Linked DNA regions of Homo sapiens: region 2 is linked to region 1. Evidence: promoter capture Hi-C in human tissues and cell types (Jung and others, 2019). All regions are on one chromosome and are shown on one strand. Each heading gives the region's core, a stretch centred on a gene start or on the middle of the fragment in contact. The rest is flanking DNA. Distances are from core to core; before and after follow the strand shown.

What was found. Contacts are between HindIII fragments. The study calls those that stand out against the background at their distance.
Region 2: a fragment that was not itself captured here is called in contact with the fragment with the promoter of DSCC1 in region 1 in 2 of the 25 tissues and cell types used here (H1 embryonic stem cells and mesendoderm cells).

Annotation. Positions count from the first base shown.
Region 1 is chr8:119,853,889-119,857,532 of GRCh38, reverse strand. DSCC1 (DNA replication and sister chromatid cohesion 1) reads left to right here and starts at 1,639. Exons shown (of 9, transcript NM_024094.3): 1 at 1,639-1,919. The coding sequence starts at 1,738. It overlaps LOC105375728 (a long non-coding RNA gene), which reads right to left. Exons shown (of 4, transcript XR_928590.3): 2 at 2,731-2,858; 3 at 1,654-2,127. RefSeq lists a silencer at 1,488-1,547 and an enhancer at 1,658-1,967. The HindIII fragment of the contact is 8,457 bases long and covers 1-3,644 here.
Region 2 is chr8:120,325,139-120,328,658 of GRCh38, reverse strand. The region is part of intron 40 of COL14A1 (collagen type XIV alpha 1 chain); the gene reads right to left. Among named protein-coding and RNA genes, the nearest start is that of MRPL13, 120 kb to the left of the region's middle. The HindIII fragment of the contact is 6,229 bases long and covers 1-3,520 here.

The sequences.
Region 1 (3,644 bases), core at 390-2,889:
AATTAATAAAAACTATCATCATTTTGTCTTATGAGAGGAACACAGGTCCAGCTCCCTGACAGAATATCAAATTAATGGCAATAATTTCATACCATTAATTGGAAATTAAATTCATAATGATTAATACATAAAAACAAAAAGAACTGCTGCCATTTATTAAGCAGCCATGCATTTTAGAATGTACATCTTAAGAATGTAGGTCTTATGTGCTTTTTTATCGATAAGGAAGTTGTACTCAGAGAAATTAGGTAAATTGCCTTAGGTCACAAAGTTCTGAAGAGAGTTGGGATTCGCAGCCATGCCTGTCTGATGTAAATGTCAGGGTTCTAGTTGACACTGCTTCTAGTTGTAGGGAATGTTTCCCATTTAATAGAGCAACTACAATGGTTGATTCCCTTCAATAATAACTTCTTATCAGGCAACCACTGTCACATTCAGGATTTCATTCCACCGAATTCCTATGCATTCAAATGTAAAAGAGGCTAGTGAAGAAGTAGGTCACATGAACCAATCTTTCCACCACCAACGAAAGCACTGCCCAGACTCCTGGGATGCCCTACTCTGGTATTTTCGTATCATTTTACCCAAGAATTGAAAAAAATGTCTGCTCAGATCCTTTGAATTCAACACCTTACCCACCACTTTCTTTCACTTCAAGCAAGGTCTGATTTGCACTAACTAGTAGGAGGTCACCATCTCTTAAGTGATTCCTCCCAGACTATTTTAGCTCTCAGGGACAGCCAGGGCCCTCAACGATTCCCTAAGCATCTCTGGGAAAGTTTACACATTACGCTGTTACAAGCAATTCATGTATGTGTGCATAGTGAAAACCTTTTCTCTTAAAACTCTTAATACTGAAGTTCCCCAAACCTTTGGAAAATGTACAAGTCACAGATGCTCCTGTGACTTGTTTTTCCCTTCGGGTGCGTCCTCAACCTTGCTTAAATAAACCTCTATTGAACGAGACCTGCATCAGTCACTTTTCGGTTAACACTAGGTATTCAACGAATAGACTAGTCCCGCCGTTGTCTCCAGATATGATGGTGCCCTGACCCAAAGAAGCGAGATACTCCTTCCCAGGGCCTCGCTCCCGAGCATGGGTTATTTGCACAAAACCCCGCAGGAAGCTTTTAGAGCCACAGTCGGCTAGGCTGGAGTCAGACTCTGTTACCTCCTGACTCTGCCATCACGAGCAAGGAGCCTGCTTCCTCATTGGCAAAAGGGAATGACCAAGGCACCACCTTACAGGGTTGTGGCAACGGGCTCATGGAATTATACATGCCAAGTGGTTATCACAGGGCCCGCCACTGGCGGAAGGTGAGACAATGTGGACGGCGAGGAAATGGGAGCATCGGCTGGAAACCAGGGACGGAGATCGGGGATGGGGGGCGGGCAAGGGGACAGCGGAAAGGGTGGGCGAGGGATCCGTGTCCCAACCCGCCGAGTCGCAGCTCTGCCCCTGCGAGCTTCCGCCGAGACCGCCCCCCGGGAAGCCGCGTTTCCTTCCTGCAGTCGCGGTCCGGCGTGGGGCACGGAGGGGCTCGCGCTCCCAGAAGCCGGCAGGCCTTCCCGCGGGCGGGCCCGCAGCGCGCTCCGCCCCGGAAACACGCCCATGGCCGCCTTGGCGCGCTTTCAAACGCTCAGGTTTCCTACCTTCCGGCTGCTTGGGAACTTCTTTCTTGCCCGCCAAGCCCGCAGCCACCCGGGCGCGGCGGGACTCCTAGACCCGGCGCTGCGATGAAGAGGACCCGCGACGAGGTGGATGCGACGCTGCAGATCGCCAAGCTGAATGCGGCCGAGCTGCTGCCGGCGGTGCACTGCCTGGGCTTCGGCCCTGGGGCCAGCGGCGCTGCAGCCGGCGACTTCTGCCTGCTGGAGCTGGAGCCCACGCTGTGCCAGCAGCTGGAGGATGGACACAGGTGAGCCCTGGTCACGCGGCGCCCCCAGCCTCTGGCCGGCCACGTTATTTTCTCAGCGGGGAAAGTCGGGATAAGAAAACAGGGCCAGAGAGATGCACTGACCTGGCCGGGGGCTCATAGCAAGCTGCCTGTTCCCGAGGAGTCCACGCCTCCGGTGGGCCGTCCAGTTAGCTGCACTGCGGTGATGAGTAGCACTGGTCCAGCTGACCTTGGAGGCATGTGTCAGCGGGAGCAAGTCAGGAAATACTAATACAACCTCCGTGAAGTTTTTGAAGAGTTACCGGTGATTACAGGGACTCTACAGGACACCTGTCACTCTACCTTAAAATACAGTGGTGATACCCAATGTTTATAGAACTCTTGCCTTCCACTTATATTTATTTTACTCAGATGATAGATAGGAAGTGCTGGGAATCAGCTTACAGACTTGGTAATTGGGTGAGACCCCTACCCACCCCGAAGCAAACTTGCTTAGTAGGGATCTGAAGCTGTTTCTAATTCCAGGTCAGATACAAACTTGCTGCAAGATCATTGATTAGAAGTCGAAGTTGAGGTAGTTTTTTAAAGGCAGTCTTGAGAAGTCTAGAGAATCGTTATATCCCTCCACCCTGTGCAGCCCCAGCTCCTGCAAAATAGGGAGCTCCAGCTTGATTCTCTTTTGCACAATTGGTCCTCCGACACCTATATTTTATTAGGCTATTTTTTCTCTTTTTTCTTAATGGAATCCTTTAGGCTGTCTTTCAGTTTTCGTACTTTGCCCACCAAAGAGTGTTAGAGTAAACTGGCCATTCTTCAGATACCTGCTATATACCTCAAAGTACCTTTAAGGGAACTGAAAGAACTTCACTAGTCTGTTTCCATCCCGGTTCAGTTGGTGGAGAGTTGAGAAAGGAACTCAGGTGTGAGGACTTTCTCTCGGTCCAGTTCTAGTTAATCTAGCTGGCAAAAACAAAACAAAACAAAAACAAAAAAATAAAAACAGGCCCTGGAAACGTGTGTTTTTAATTTTGGGGTGTAGGGAGTGATGGTATAAACAAAATATTTCAAAGTGGGGGTAGTGCAGTTAGAGAAATAAATGTTAAAGACTAGGTACTTGGGCCTATTAAGCATTATTAGCATTAGGAATCTAAAAAACCTTTTATTCTTTTTACTTAAATGAAGACTTAGTCAAAAATAAATACACAGTCTGCTATTTCAGGTTTCTTATTATTTATTCAAAAGAAACGAGTTGTGCACAGGAGAATTAAATGCTTTACAGACAAGGAAAACTGCTAGAACCAACTCCCCTGTCATTGCCATCATCTTTGTCTTTAATCCTTCCTTTTCCTCCGCTTCACCTTCATCCTTTCCTCTTCCTTCTTTTTTCTTTATCTTTTTTTTGGGGAGAGAGTGGTGGGAACAGGGTCTCACTCTGTCAGCCAGGCTGGAGTGCAGTGGCACAATCACGGCTCTCTGCATGATGGTGCCATGACTACTTGGGGTCAGGCGATCCTCCCACCAGCCTCCTGAGTAGCTGAGACTTAAGGTGTGCATCATCACACCCAGCTAACTTTTAAATTTTTCTTTTGTAGTGATGGGGTCTTGCTATGTTTCTCAGGCTGGTCTCAAACTCCTGCTCTCGAGCGATCTTCTGGCCTCAGCCTCCTAAAGTGCTAGGATTACAGGCATGAGCCACTGCGTTCTTGCTTTTCTTCAAAATCCCTTTGTCAAAGTCTTTGGTTTAGT
Region 2 (3,520 bases), core at 312-2,811, 470 kb before region 1:
GAATTCACTTGATTTATGGACATCATGTGCATATCATCTGGAAGGATGACATGTTGCTCCTACATATGAGCTTAATTTGGTGAAAGGGCTAGTGCTTCAGTGTGATCAAATCAAAAGTGGAGGCTGCAGCTGGGTGTGGTGGCTCATGCCTGTAATCCCAGCATGTTGGGAGGCTGAGGCAAAAGGATCGCTTGAGCCCAGGAGTTCAAGACTAGCCTGGGCAACATAAAGACACCCCTATCTCTACCAAAAAAAAAAAAATTAAAAAAAAATTGCTCTGCCTGGTGGCTTGTGCCTGTAGTCCCAGCTACTCTGGAGGATTGCTTGAGCCCGGAAGGTTGAAACTTCAGTGAGCTGTGATCACACCACTGCACTCCAGTCTGGGTGATAGAGTGAGACCCTGTCTCAAAAAAACAAATAAAGCAGAGACTGGATAAGATGTTTGTTTGCTTTAAATTCTACCTAAACAATATCCTCAAAAGTTGGAATTTCTTCTTTCTCTTCTTCTTTCGAGGGCAGAAAATTATGTTTTATTCATCGCTATATTCCTAAAACTTTCTTAACACATTACTGACACAAAATAGGTACTGCACATGGCCAGGTGCAGTGGCTCATGCCTGTAATCTCAGCACTTTGGGAGGCCGAGGCGGGCAGATGACCTGAGGTCAGGAGTTCGAGACCAGCCTGGCCAACATGGTGAAACCCTGTCTCTACTAAAATACAAAACTTAGCCAGGCGTGGTGGCTCATGCCTGTAATCCCAGCTACTTGGGAGGCTGAGGCATGAGAATCACTTGAACCTGGGAGGTGGAGGTTGCAGTGAGCCAAGATTGCACCACTGCACTCCAGTGGGTGACAAAGCAAGACTCCATCTCAAAAAAAAAAAAAAGTATTGCACTAATAAATACTTAATTTGAATAAGATTGAGGTTCCTGCTCTACTTATCACATCGAAGAAATAAGCGTGAATCACAGGTAGAATGAGTCTGGAAATGTATAGGGTGAGGGGAATGCTGGTGTCATTCTCCTTGCTCTTGAACCCTCTGCAAGCAAGTCGAAAAGACATCAGGAGTCATCCTACTCTCAGAAGCTGAAATTTCATTTTAGTAAAAGCTTAAGGTTAGGATCCTAGAAGCAGACCCAGATCCTTGTGTATTTGACTTATTGCAGGAGGGTTCTTGGAAGAAACCTGTAAGGCAGTGAAGGAAGCAGGGTAGGGACAGGGAAGAGGTTAGGTAGAGTAGTGAGTTATCTAAACTTCTGCCTGATCCCATGGGGAGCTCTGGAGTGTGAATTACACGTCAGAGTTGACTCACATAAGAGTCTATGAACCAAATCAGTTAGTCGTTGACTGAGGGCCAAGATAACATTTCCAAGGGCAATTATCTGGAGAAGGGGACAATTATGAGTGGTTAGCAGTCAGCACCATAGCAGCTGGTGATGTAGTTCACCTGCCAAGTAAAGGGGGTCCAATCAGGGCACCAACAGCATCCACTACAATGCATTTTATTCTGGCACTTTTTTCATGGACTGTCATAAACAACTAAACACTTTTAGAGATAATGGTTCAAGAACAAATAACAAATTTGTTCAAGAACAAAGGTGGGTTTTTGTTTTTGTTTCTGTTTTTTGAGTTAGAGTCTCACTCACTCTGTCGCTCAGGCTGGAGTACAGTGGCACAATCTCGGCTCATGGCAACCTCCGCCTCCCAGGCTCAAAAAATTCTCCTGCCTCAGCCTCCTGAGTAGCTGGGATTACAGACATGCACCACCACACCCGGCTAATTTTTGTATTTTTTGTAGAGACAGGATTTCGCCATGTTGGCCAGGCTGGTCTCAAACTCCCGAACTCAAGTAATCCACCTGCCTCAGCCTCCCAAAGTGCTGGGATTACGGGCATGAACCACTGCACCCAACCAAGAACAAAGGCGTTTTTAAGTCTACTGTGAGTTATCTGCTTGCTTTATCTCAAATGAAAATTTTCTTATTATAAATTGTGATAACTAAAAGGATATTAGCCTTAACACCATTTCAAAAACACAAAGCCATTTTTTCTAAAATTTCTTCATAACCCTAGAAAATTAAAGATCTTCACATTTTCCATCTCATAAAATAGTTTTATTTTTAAACTCTTAAATGACACCAGTAAATTTGCCTTTGAAAGATTTTTTATTTGCAAGTCTTGCATTTGTCATATTACCCAGAAATACCTGTACAGGTACTACATGCTGGGGATTCTGCTAGGCTCTAGGTAGACAATGATGAACAAGACAGTCACTCTTCTAAGAGTTTACAGTTTTGAGGATAGTCAAACAATGAAAAGAAACCAACAGTGTGCTATGCTGAGAGACTATAGAGTTCCAACGGGTACATCTAGGAAGAGCACCTAACCCAGGCTTGGGGACACAGAGACATTTTCACAGAAGAGGTGGAATTTAAGTCAAGTAATCAGAATGGTTGGGTCCATGGCATGAGTCTCCCTATTCACACACCACTGCATGTTACAGCTCTCACTGGGCAAGCCAGTCAACTCTTCAAAGGGCAGGGTTCAGGCCCTTCTTCTCACATCTTCATTTCAGGGTGAGCAGCAGTAGCAGAAGCTTTTTACAGAAAGCAATAAACTTGGTGAAAGGAAAAATTTTGTAAAATAACTGCATTTTGTAGGGTAAATTAATGGGCAAATTCTAGCTTTGTCATTCAGCTTAACTATAATCAAAGCTCATTGAATGGTCTTCAACTATTAACAGCTAAAAAAGTACTTGCACGTCCCAAAACCTTTCTATATCTATAAATTTTCCATTTTACACCAAGGAGCTAATCTAAGATGTGTGTTTAGAGATTAAGCATCCTCATATAAAGCAGAACATGTGGCCAGGTGCAGTGGCTCATGGCTGTAATCCTAGCACTTTGGGAGGCCAAGGAGGGTGGATCACTGGAGGTCGGGGGTTCCGGACCAGCCTGAACAACATGGCGAAACCCCATCTCTACTAAAAATACAAAAACTAGCTGGGTGCGGTACGTTACGCCTGTAAGCCCAGATACTCAAGTGGCTGAGGCAGGAGAATCGCTTGAACCCAGGAGGTGGAGGTTGTAGTGAGCCAAGATCGCACCACTGCACTCCAGCCTGGGCAACAGAGTGAGACTCTGTCTCAAAAACAAACAAACAAACAAACAAACAAACAAACAGCAGAACACTTAATTAAGCAATGTACAATGAATATTAGGAAATAGAAGGTTAAACAATAAGCATAATATGTGAATTCACTTAGGCTGACTTTTTTAAAAAATGCATGAAATTAGTCACCCACAGACAGGGATTTTTTTAAATAACATGAATAGCTCTAGGCATTTTTCCTTTTTAATATTCCTACCTCAAAATATTAATATGCACCCATAGTCCACATTAAAAATAATTCTTGCTATAAAAACTTGAAAGGATTTTTATAATTTGTTTTTAAAAACATTTGCCTATGAGCAACTTATTAAGTTATGGTTGGCTATGATTTATCAGCAAAAGTATACC